Linked DNA regions of Homo sapiens: region 1 is linked to region 2. Evidence: promoter capture Hi-C in 16 types of primary human blood cells and fetal thymus (Javierre and others, 2016). All regions are on one chromosome and are shown on one strand. Each heading gives the region's core, a stretch centred on a gene start or on the middle of the fragment in contact. The rest is flanking DNA. Distances are from core to core; before and after follow the strand shown.

Region 1 (5,534 bases), core at 177-2,676, 550 kb after region 2:
TGCTTTATATGAAGTCCAGATACTTTAATCTCTTCTTATCTGTGTCAACCTTACTTGCCCATTGTTCCTCTTTAACAAATCAGATCAGTTTTCTTACTAATTAAGGTCATTCTTATTTTTCTTTCCTTGAGCATTAACTCCTTCCTCAAGACACTCCCTGTTTTCACTCCCTTACCCAAGTTCTGTACATTCTTCACTGCTATGGGGTCTTTAGCCCCAGGATGCTCTTCCTTTTCATAATTACTCTTCACTGGCAATTCAGATCAAACAGATTGTACTTACCCTATATGCCATCTGCTCCCAGAATTGCTCACAATAATTGAAGATGTATCCTGTAGCATTCATCTTCCCAATGAATAGGTTTGTTGGGTCTCCCTACCCCAGCAGAGTATGTCTTGGGTTTTTTTTTTTTTTTTTTTTTTTTGAGACTGTGTCTCGCTTTGTTGCCCAGGCTGGAGTGCAGTGGCATGATCTCGGCTCACTGCAAGCTCCGCCTCCCGGGTTCAAGCCATTCTCCTGCTTCAGCCTCCCGAGTAACTGGGACTACAGGCACCCGCCACCATGCCCGGCTAATTTTTTGTATTTTTTTTAGTAGAGATGGGGTTGTCTTGGTTTTTTTATACCTTACTTCATGGAATATGGGTATGAATCAGTTCTGTGTTTATATACCAAAAAAAAAAGGCATATAAACATTTCACAAAAATATTTGTTAGATTTTCAACAAGCATCCTAAAATGATAGTTGATGATTTACATGTTAGCAGATTACTATGTTTTAATTACATTTTGGGAAGTTGATTGGGATTTTGGGGTTGACATGTACTATATCAAAATATTTCTCATTTAAAGTAATGGGAAATAGGTTATCAGTATTTTCATGGAGAACATTGGCTTTTCAGATATGGATAACTGACCTAAAGTGAGCAATGCCTATATGAACCATCATTAAATAAATAGATCCCTGCTGCTAACACCCTGGAGGATGTTGTGTGGAGCTACATAGAGCTGCCCACAAGAAAAGCAGCCCTACAACCAGTATCTACCTTCAGAACAATGCCTGTAGGTTAGCACTTCTTCCATTATGAATTTTGATTTGAGAATATTTGAAAACCAATGTGTTTTCTCTGCTGACAAAACATAGTACTCTAACATGTTTGTTTCTACCAATCACCCTTTACACACGCCTCTCATTTTACCATGATTTTTTGTGGCCTTTCAGGAATCACAGACTGAATTTTGTATTCCTCAATTTAGACGGTCCTAAACATGCTCTCATATATTGATGAAAAGCCATCAAGCCATTATCCTAGGTGGTACAATGAACTAGATAGATACTTAAATTTAGATTATACCCTGTTTTATGGTACCATATGGCTCCAGCTAGACTATCAACCTCTTTTGAAAGTGAGTTATGCATTTTAACTACCCCTCCTCAGCCCACCCAACCTGGTTTTCAATTATTTCAGATGTTGAGGGAGTACTTCTTGAGAGCTTTGCAGTTCAGGTCTTAAGCAGAATTGTAGGGTGCGTTTGAAATTTGAATAACATATTTATCTCTGACCTTGCTGTGGCAAATCCACTGCTACTATGTATGCTAGGTAGTTTTTATATTCATCATCTATAGCATGTTTTAAGGTTTCGGAACCTAGATTCTATTAGAGGAATAGGAGTGATATTTTTTCATAAGCCAAACTTTCAAACAAAACTAAACAAAGCATTGTCTATAGTAACTTCGCATACACCAGTGAAGGCACAGAAGATGACCTAGAAGGGACCTTTGCGAAAGCCTCCCAAAAACTTCATTGGGCCTATTTTTCCTATTAAGAAAAAGAAGAAAGGGAAATAAGCAACAAAATGATATTAAGGAAGAAGGCAGGCAAAATTCCTATGGGGCTCTTTTTTGACTGTTCTTGAGCCCCCAGTGGTGTTTCCTTTCTTCACTTTATCTGCTGGAATGTATTTGTAATGAGCAAAAATAATTTAAGTACACAGGTCTATTTTCTATGAAGTTAATACTTCTTAGTGAGATATATTTCACTTTTTAAGAGTGATTGACTTAAGAATTTATTCCCCACTGTTTTCTCCAATAGAAGAAGCTCTTTAAGATATATAAAGGAAAAAAGCTAAGTACAAACTAGGTCTAAGTTCACATTAGAGGAAGGAAGAGAAAGTGGCTAAACAGATGGACATGATACAATATCCAGGGCATGCAGGGAGGATTTCTAGCTGGTGGTTTCTTACAGGGCTCAGGACTGGGCCTATGCTAACAGACTCACTTTTTATTAAATACTCTCAAATATTGTTAATTGTTATTTTGTTTTTCATATGTGATATTTTCCTAATAATTTTTAAAGTTGGAGTTTAAAATGCTTTTAGAGAGATGAACTCTTTTAAAACAAGGTATCTCCAGGTCAGCTTTCATATACACTTTAGGCTCAGCAGTAGGTGCTTGGTGGTGCTGCCTGAATGATGGACTTTTGGTCTGTGTATTGCTATTATTGATTACTTCAGATGGTCGATAGGTGTTTGTGTTTGACATAGACAGAATAAATGGGCACTGCTATATGATGGATGAGTATCACAGCGTCTGGAAGGGCTCTGCCTTCACATAACTCTTTTAGGAAGGGCTAACACCAGTGTGTTCTGATATTGCTTTTGTTCTCTGAGTAGGTGAATCTGTGCACAGAGATAACAAGCCCTTTTGAATTACAGGGCCACTAGGGTACAAATGCTAGCCAGCCTTCCAGATTATTTTCATAACTAAAAATGGGCTGCAAACCAGCTTCATCCAATTTCGGGGATTGGATGAAACCAAATTAGATCTACTGTGCATCAGACAGAGGTTGTGCTGGCAAACAGCAGACATATAAATGTGACCATGTTTCCTAAAAGAGGCATGGGGGACAGTGGTATTTCTGAGTGAATTTATAACTGATGACGTAAATGGCAAGTACATACATACTGGATAAATTTGAAATCTTCAGTACAAAGGAAGCAAAAGAAACAGGAAGGAAAGGAAGCCATCTTTGTTCTAAAGCCTGAGGAGCAGTGTGATCTTGTAGAAAGAACCTAGGCCTTTGGGTGTGAGCTCCCCATTCTTCTTCTTCCTCTTCCATTTACTAGCTGTTTGTCCTCATACAATGAACTTCACTTCCTGACCCTTGTCTGTATCATGAACATAAGAGAACTGTCTTAGTCTCTTTGAGTTGCCATAACAAAATACCATAAGCTGGGTAAATTATAAACAATGGAAACTTACTTCTCATAGTTCTGGAGGCTGGGAAGGCCCTGGCATATTTGGTATCTGATGAGGGCCCTCTTTCTCACACAAAAAAATTAATAAATAAAAAATATCTTCTTGCAGAGTCTACACATGGTAGAAGGGGAAAACTCTATCTCCTCAACTCCTTACAAGGGCATTGATATGGTTTGGCTGTGTGTCCCCACCCAAATCTCATGTCGAATTGTAATCCCCAGTGTGAGAGGAGGGGCCTGGCAGGAGGTGATTGGATCATGGGTGGATTTCCCCCTTGATGTTTGCATGATAGTGAGTGAATTCTCCCAAAATCTGGTTGTTTAAAAGTGTGCAGCACCTCGCCCTTCTCTGTCTCTTCCTCCTGCTCTAGTCACGTAAAACGTGCCTGCTTCCCCTTCATGTTCCTCCATGATTGTGAATTTTCTGAGGTCTCCCCAGCCATGTTTCCTGTACAGCCTGTGGAACAGTGAGCCAATTAAACCTCTTTATAAATTACCCAGTTTCAGGTATTTCTTTATAGCAGTGTGAGAATGGACTAATACAGACATTAATCCCATTCCTGAGGACTCCACCTTCATGGCTTAATCGCCTCTCAAAGGCCAAATCTCCTAATACCATCACATTGGGGATTAGGTTTTAGCCTGTGAATTCTGGGGGGACATAAACATTCAGACCACAGGAAGTGCCTAACTTATTAGGATCATTGTGATGATTGAAGATAATACATAGAAAGAGAGTTTTTAGCAGACAGAGCCTGGCATATAGTAAACTCCAATAAATAAGAAGAATTTGCTGTTCTTGTTGGCAGAGATGCAGCAGCCACTGTCCTGAGCTGGCTTTCTCTTCATCATCCCCATCATCCCTGGTAGACTGGCTTGCTCCTGTGAATGGACAGCTCCATTCAACTAATGGCTTCCTGGGACTACTTCTTTCATGTCTGTAACGTTAAGCTTTAGCACTCCTACTGCATCCTTACCCAGGGAAAATTACACCAAATAGATCTAGCTTTGATCTGTTTTCAATTTTGACTGAATTATGAACAATAATACATGATTTTAAAGTATAGCCAGAGACTCCAGGCTACAAAAATTCAAAATCTTTTTAGTCTTTTTAGATCTTGAAAGTAGATGATTAACCATTGTCAGCTCTATATTGACTTGGGCTTTCTTGGCTATTGAACTTCTGGCTCCAATTCACACCTCTATTCTCCCTTTAAACCTGTATAATATATTTTTTTGTAATGCCTTAATTTCAGAAGTACATATTTATGCATTGGTTTTGTTATTTTATCAAAATTATGATATTTGATATCATAAATCCTAAAAGCTGCTTTTAGCATAGTGATTACAAAGCATCCTATGACCAACAAAGGGACTACTAAAGGATTAATTATACCTTTCTTTACTGCTTAGGGCTTTCTTCCCCCAGAATGCCATTGCTGTGAAATACCATGCTAATAAGGCCTCTGGCAGAACAGAAATCCAAAGAACTCTTCCTATTCCATGACCATGCTGCATAACAAACCACTTAAGAATTCAGCGGCTTAGAGCAATTGTTTATTTTTGCTCAAATGCTCATGGATTGATCAAGGTTGGCTGACTCAAGCTCAGCCATCAACTACAGGTTAGGTCCAGAGTTGCTCCACATATTTTTCATCCCCCTTGGACCAGCAGGCTAATCAGGGCATGCTCTTCTCTGGTCATGGTAGAAAGATAAGAAGGGCCAATGGAAACCTGTGCTGCCTCCTAAGTCATATGCTTGTAACTGCCCCCTTTTACTTCCAGCCCCATTCCATTGACCAATCAAGTCAAACCTCCATGGAGGGATTGCAAAGTCCTATGGCAGAGGGTTTAGTTATGGGAATGGTTAAAGAATCAAGATCAGTAATAAACTGACCACATCTAGCTTTACCATTAACCATCAAGGGACTTTGAGCAGTCTCCAAGCCTCAGATTCTCAATGATTACATTCATTCGTGCATGCAACCAATATTTTTACCACCTACTCAATGCCAGGCATTGTCCTAGGTAATGAGAATACAGCATTGAACAAAATAAAAACCCTTGCTCACATGGATCACATATTCCAGTCAGAGAGATAGACAGTAAATAATGTGTGTGTACATGCATGCATGAGTATATAATATGTCAGAGAGTGAAAATGCGATAAGGAAAAATTAAGACAAGCGAAATAATTCACCTTTCCCTGCCCTAGAGCTTGCCACTGTTAACAGTTTGGTGCTTGTGTTTGAGGGGATGAATAGTGGAGCCTGACCACTG
Region 2 (5,308 bases), core at 951-3,450:
AAAGTATCCCATATTAGTACTCCTTCCCATGTTTAGTCTTGCCTGAGAGTAGCTTGTAGGAAGCATGGCCTTGAGATGAATATGGTGGATACATCTGAGGGACAGCAGCTGAGTCCATCAGTCAATTTTAATTTGATATGGGCATTTTAATGGCCATATTCAACATAGTCTTTTTTTCTTTTATTATTATTATTTTGAGACAGGGTCTTGTTCTGTCACCCAGGCTGGGGTGTAGTGGTGCAATCTCCGTTCACTGCAACTTCTGCCTCCTGGGCTCAAGTGATCCTTGCACCTCAGCCTCCTGAGTAGCTGGTGCACACTACCATGCTGGTTAATTTTTTGTGTTTTGTTTTGTTTTGTTTTGTTTTTTGTAGAGACAGGGTTTCACAATGTTGCCCAGGCTGGTCTTGAACTCCTGGAGTCAAGCAATCTGCCTGCCTCAGCTTCCCAAAGTACTAGGATTATAGGCATGAGCCAACGTGCCCATCTCCCACATAGACTTATGATGGCTTTTAGCAGCTACAGAGACTAAGTCCTTCCAAATTTGAATCCAGAGGAAGACAAGCATCTTTATCCTAGCATTCCTAGCAAAAGCTCTGAGATTGACTTGGATTAGACCAACCTAGGTCATGTGCCCCACTCCTGAGCCAGGCATGGTGGCCAGGGAAGTTTTATGACCTGCTTTGCTCAGGTGTAGTTTTCATGTCCTACTTCCAAAGTAGGAGTTGGAACTCCACCCATACCATGAGAACTGAGAGGCAATGAGGGGCAGGTCTCCAAGAAACAATATGAACATAGAATATATGTATTTTTCATTTTAATGGCTGCTTTAGAAAGCAACAAGTTTGCTTTCTAAAGACACTGTAACAATTTACAGTTCCTCCAAAAAGTATAATAGTACCTTTTCCCCCACAACTTCACCAATGATATCTTAGTTTTCTTTTTAAATGCTTGCCTACCTGATGTTTACATTATTAGTTTTAATTTATAATTTCCTAGTTCCTAGTACTAGTGTTTCTAAACTATTTTTTTCATATATTCATTGGCTACTTGGATTTGCTTTTCTGTCCATGGATTCTCCACATCTCTTGTCCGTTTTCCTATTGTTTATCTTTTGTCCTTTTTTTTGTCAATTTATAAAAGCACTTTTTATATTATAGCTAATAACCCTCTGTCTGTCCTCTGCATTGCAAATGGGTGAAGAAAAATTAGCCTGGAACTCTGCACATCTTCTCCTCCTCCATCTTTATTGTCCATACTAGACCCATAGTCCTCAGGATGCAGTCTAGATCAATATGCCAGGAATACTATGGGAAAACTGCAACATTTGTTTTTTAAATTTTTTTAAATAATTTTTTTAGAGAAAAGGTCTTGCTTTGTTGCCCAGACTGGAGTGCACTGATGCGATCATAGCTCACTGCAGCCTCGAACTTCTTGGCTCAAGCGATCTTCCCACCTGATCGTTTTTGAAAAACAAAACAAGATAATTCCTGGTCAAGGACAAGTTTTCATCACCCACCTCTACCCCTCCCCAACCACACATACTGGGGCAAGATTGCTCAAATTTCAGTCATTCTGGAACCACCTCCCCAATTTTTGCCATATCCTTTAAGTTGTGTACTATTTATATTTCTGAAAATTGTCCTTTTTGCACAGATTTATTTTAAAAGCATATATCGTTGCTATTACATCATTGTAACTACTGGTTATATTTTTCCAATACGCATTAAAATAAATTCATAACTATGAAAATAAAAGACATTTATGTACTACCCAAAACATACCTACCTTTAGGAAACTGCATTAGAGCACGTCAATAGGATCACCAGGCTAGTCAAGGACAAGACCAAGGGTTTACAGAGCTGTGAGTTTCACGGCCTTACCACTCATTGATCGCACAACCACTCCCATGGAGTGCAGTGGGTGGTAGGTTCATTTACATCAGAGAAAAGGCAGCATGGAAGAGTGCAACTTCTGTACACATATTCAAGTAGTGAGAATTAGAATCCAGGTCTTTCTCCAAAAAACAACAATGTAGTAGGGAAAAGTGTTGATTTGGGAGAAATAGACCTCAGTCAAGTCCAGTGGACCAACTGTACATGGTATTCAGGGCCCAGGAAGCTGGACCCAGTGCCGACGAGGATTGCACTATGAACATTCTACATTCTGGCTAGAACATTAGGGATTCTAAGGTTCTGCTGATTATGCTGGCATCCAGGGCTTGCAAGTGGCAGCTTCAGCACCCAGGGCTGTGGTAGGTCACAGTCTCTGGGCGGGTCTCAGTGTCCAACACTGTAGCTGGTGCCTGCCAGGTTCCCAGTGGCTGGGGTCACCAGGTCTGAAGAGAGATGTGCTGGCTGCGGGCATGGGGCCAGATCCTCCTGCCAGTTTTCCTCTCCCTCTTTCTCATCCAATTGCTTATCAGCTTCTCAGAGAATGGTTTTATCCACAGCCCCAGGAACAATCAGAAACCAAGAGATGGGAATGAAGAGGGTGAGTGATCTGGAGTCCTGAGGTGGGTGCCCCACATGCTCCAGCGTTTTTTTTCCTTTTAATGGTGCCATCCTGGTGCACTGGAATTTTCATCTCAAAAGTTGTCATTTGGTGTTGGTGGGAAGACATTTTAAAGGTTCTAGATGGTTTTGGTGAAACTCAGTTAAATTGGACTCAGATTAATTTGGTTTATCTGAAATATGAAAGGTAGATTCAAAGTTTTAAATTTGAGGAAAAGCATGGTTTCTCCCCCATCACTTTCTGCATGACCTATGACATATAAGCTTTTTGTTGTGAATAAGCCATTGGGTTTTGTTCTAATCAGACCCACTCAATGGTCATAGTTCCTCTTTCTTAAGTTTTTTAAGGTCTTAGTTAATAAAATGCTTTATTTGTTCTTTTTCATAAAAAAATTACTTCAGTTTGGAGGCCTCTCTCGATTTCCTTCCAAATTGAAAAAATTTTGAAATGTTAAAAGTCATGCTGAGTTAAATTCATGAACCTGGAAATAAGGTTTTAAGTATCCTAAATTGGAACCGTATAGACAAAATAAGAGACAGAATTTGAATTACTTGGAAAGTGCCCTGTAAAGCCAAGATTGCCATTTTTACAAAGACAATGAGACAGAATAATTACTGCTGTCTGGTTTCCAGAGTAGAAAAGAATGTTAGTATCTGTAAGCAAATCAGTCTTCCTTACTAAAACCAAATCCACAGTTCTCAGCGTTGCACTGAAATAAGAATCTCCTTCGAGGGGGTAGGGTTGGGGCGACGCTGAATTAAAAGAGCTAGCTTGTTTTCTTTGGTTTCATCTTTCCCACAGATTTCTCTTTTTTAACCTCTTGGTCACCTCTATACATACTCTAAGAGAAATAGTGTTCCAGTGCCATCCTGGCCCCTTCTCCCAACAAACAGCACCTGAAAGCATAGGCCCAAACATAAAAACAAATTCTTCCTTTTGTTCCCTAGCAAACTGGACTCATACCGGAAATTTTTCACGTCTTAAGACTTTATCAAAATGCTGATGAAGAACAAAAAAAAAAAAAAAAAGAAAAAAGAAAGAAAACAAATAAAATAAATCAAAAATCACATCTAAGATAATCTCCAAAGATGGAAGTTTCTGTTGCTAGCTAGCTCACTTCTAGGGCTGGCCAACTGGAGCCCATGTTTCTAAGGAAACACCTTGCCTGCCAAGGGCCTCTCCTGAATGCTTGCATCTTAGTCTCAGGCCAGTTCCCCTTAGTGCTTGCATTTAATCTTCCCATCTAACAAGGATATGGTTTCTTAGACATCATGATACTTTTCACTTCCAAAACTGAAAAGGGGCTTCTAAGCCTTCACGAGATCCTCATCTATGTCCCAGATTGTGCCCTAAGTGACAGGCAACAGACAGGACTTTGTGAAGGATTGCACATCAAGTGAGACCTCCCCCTAAGCAGGTTGTTTTGATCCCCAGGACTTCTATCTCTGATGTTCATTTACATTTGAGAGCTTAGTAATCAATATCTCAAGAAATTATAGAAAGCACTTGATGCAACTTTGGGTTAATCTTCTAGAATCTAATGACTGGATTAAAAAATATACTGAAACCTAGAGAATTTTCTTCACTAAAAGTAACCAGACAACAAAGGGGCATAGTGCAAAAAATAAGTGGCAACTAAGGAAAGAACTGGAAGATTCTAGATCAGAACAGAATAGCACAGCATGGCAAGACTCCAAATGTTGCCACTCTCCCTTAGAGGTAACTAGTGAGTTACTATAATCCAATAATTTTTATTAATTCTCCCAAATCTGGAGAGAAACAAGTTGAGGGGGTATCCATTCTTTTTCTTATTCCGAAGATGAGAAGAGGAAATGGCTACTGCAGAGAAATAGGTGGAATGAGGACCTGAAGAGAGAGGGCCTGACTCTCTGAAGGAAACTCAGGTTCCTGCGTTACAAGCTGGATTTGAGGGTGGATCTAGAGTCCAAAGATACCCCTTCATGGAAATGGGAAACACCTCTGATAAGCTCTAGCAAACCTTGGCACTGGAAAATGACAAACCTCAAAAGAGAGAGCAGAGTCAGATATTCTAACAAAGCCTGGCACAGCCTCATTTGAGTTCTCCCCCTTGTCTAATGCTGAAAACAATGGAGTGAATAGAACATAAAATGCCATAAAACTGTAGCTTCTTGAAAAAAATCTCAAGGATCATGGTAAGGTGGTTAGGATCTCACCTACACTATATCAGAACAAATGGAAGGTCTGAACAGAGCTGTGCAAGCATTAGTAGAATGAAAACAATAGAGCAACTATGTAAACCCTGCACAGCAAAATAAAGAAATAAAGGAGTATACGATAGCATGCAAACACACACACACACACACACACACACACACACACACACACACCCCAAATAATCTACCCTAGAAGAGAACACAACTCAAGAAACATGAAAATTTCCCACAAGTGCTTTGAGCTAGAGAACAATCAAACGAGAAATATTCAGTGAAACAAGCCTCGAAGTCGATAGCAAGATATCAGAATGAAATTAAAAGGCAGATAGCTCCAAGGAAATAAATTGAAGGCCAAATAATTTGAATATAAGGCAAGGCTTCCGAGTTTTCTCTCTTCATTTGTTTATTTCTGCTAATGGTGAACACACCAAGAATATTTGTCACATACTCTAAGCTTACTTATTGTGGTGGGCTCTGGTAGCTGCCTCATTCCTCTGTCCTCTAGCCTAGGGGGTACTGTTATCTGGGAGGAGGTTGGACTTCGCTTTCTTTCCCCTGGTAAACTTCTCAGCCTCTTTCATCACCTGCATACCCAATCT

What was found. Contacts are between HindIII fragments. The CHiCAGO score rates a contact against its expected background, and 5 or more counts as called.
Region 1: a fragment that was not itself captured here is called in contact with the fragment with the promoter of PTTG1IP2 in region 2 in 1 of 17 cell types (M2 macrophages); the score reaches 5.6 in M2 macrophages.

What each region holds. Positions count from the first base shown.
Region 1 is chr7:91,015,122-91,020,655 of GRCh38, forward strand. The region is part of intron 10 of CDK14 (cyclin dependent kinase 14); the gene reads left to right. Among named protein-coding and RNA genes, the nearest start is that of FZD1, 250 kb to the right of the region's middle. The HindIII fragment of the contact is 5,554 bases long and covers 1-4,203 here.
Region 2 is chr7:90,467,439-90,472,746 of GRCh38, forward strand. It overlaps PTTG1IP2 (PTTG1IP family member 2), which reads left to right and starts at 2,201. Exons shown (of 7, transcript NM_001365443.2): 1 at 2,201-2,493. The coding sequence starts at 2,349. The HindIII fragment of the contact is 9,262 bases long and covers 1-2,775 here.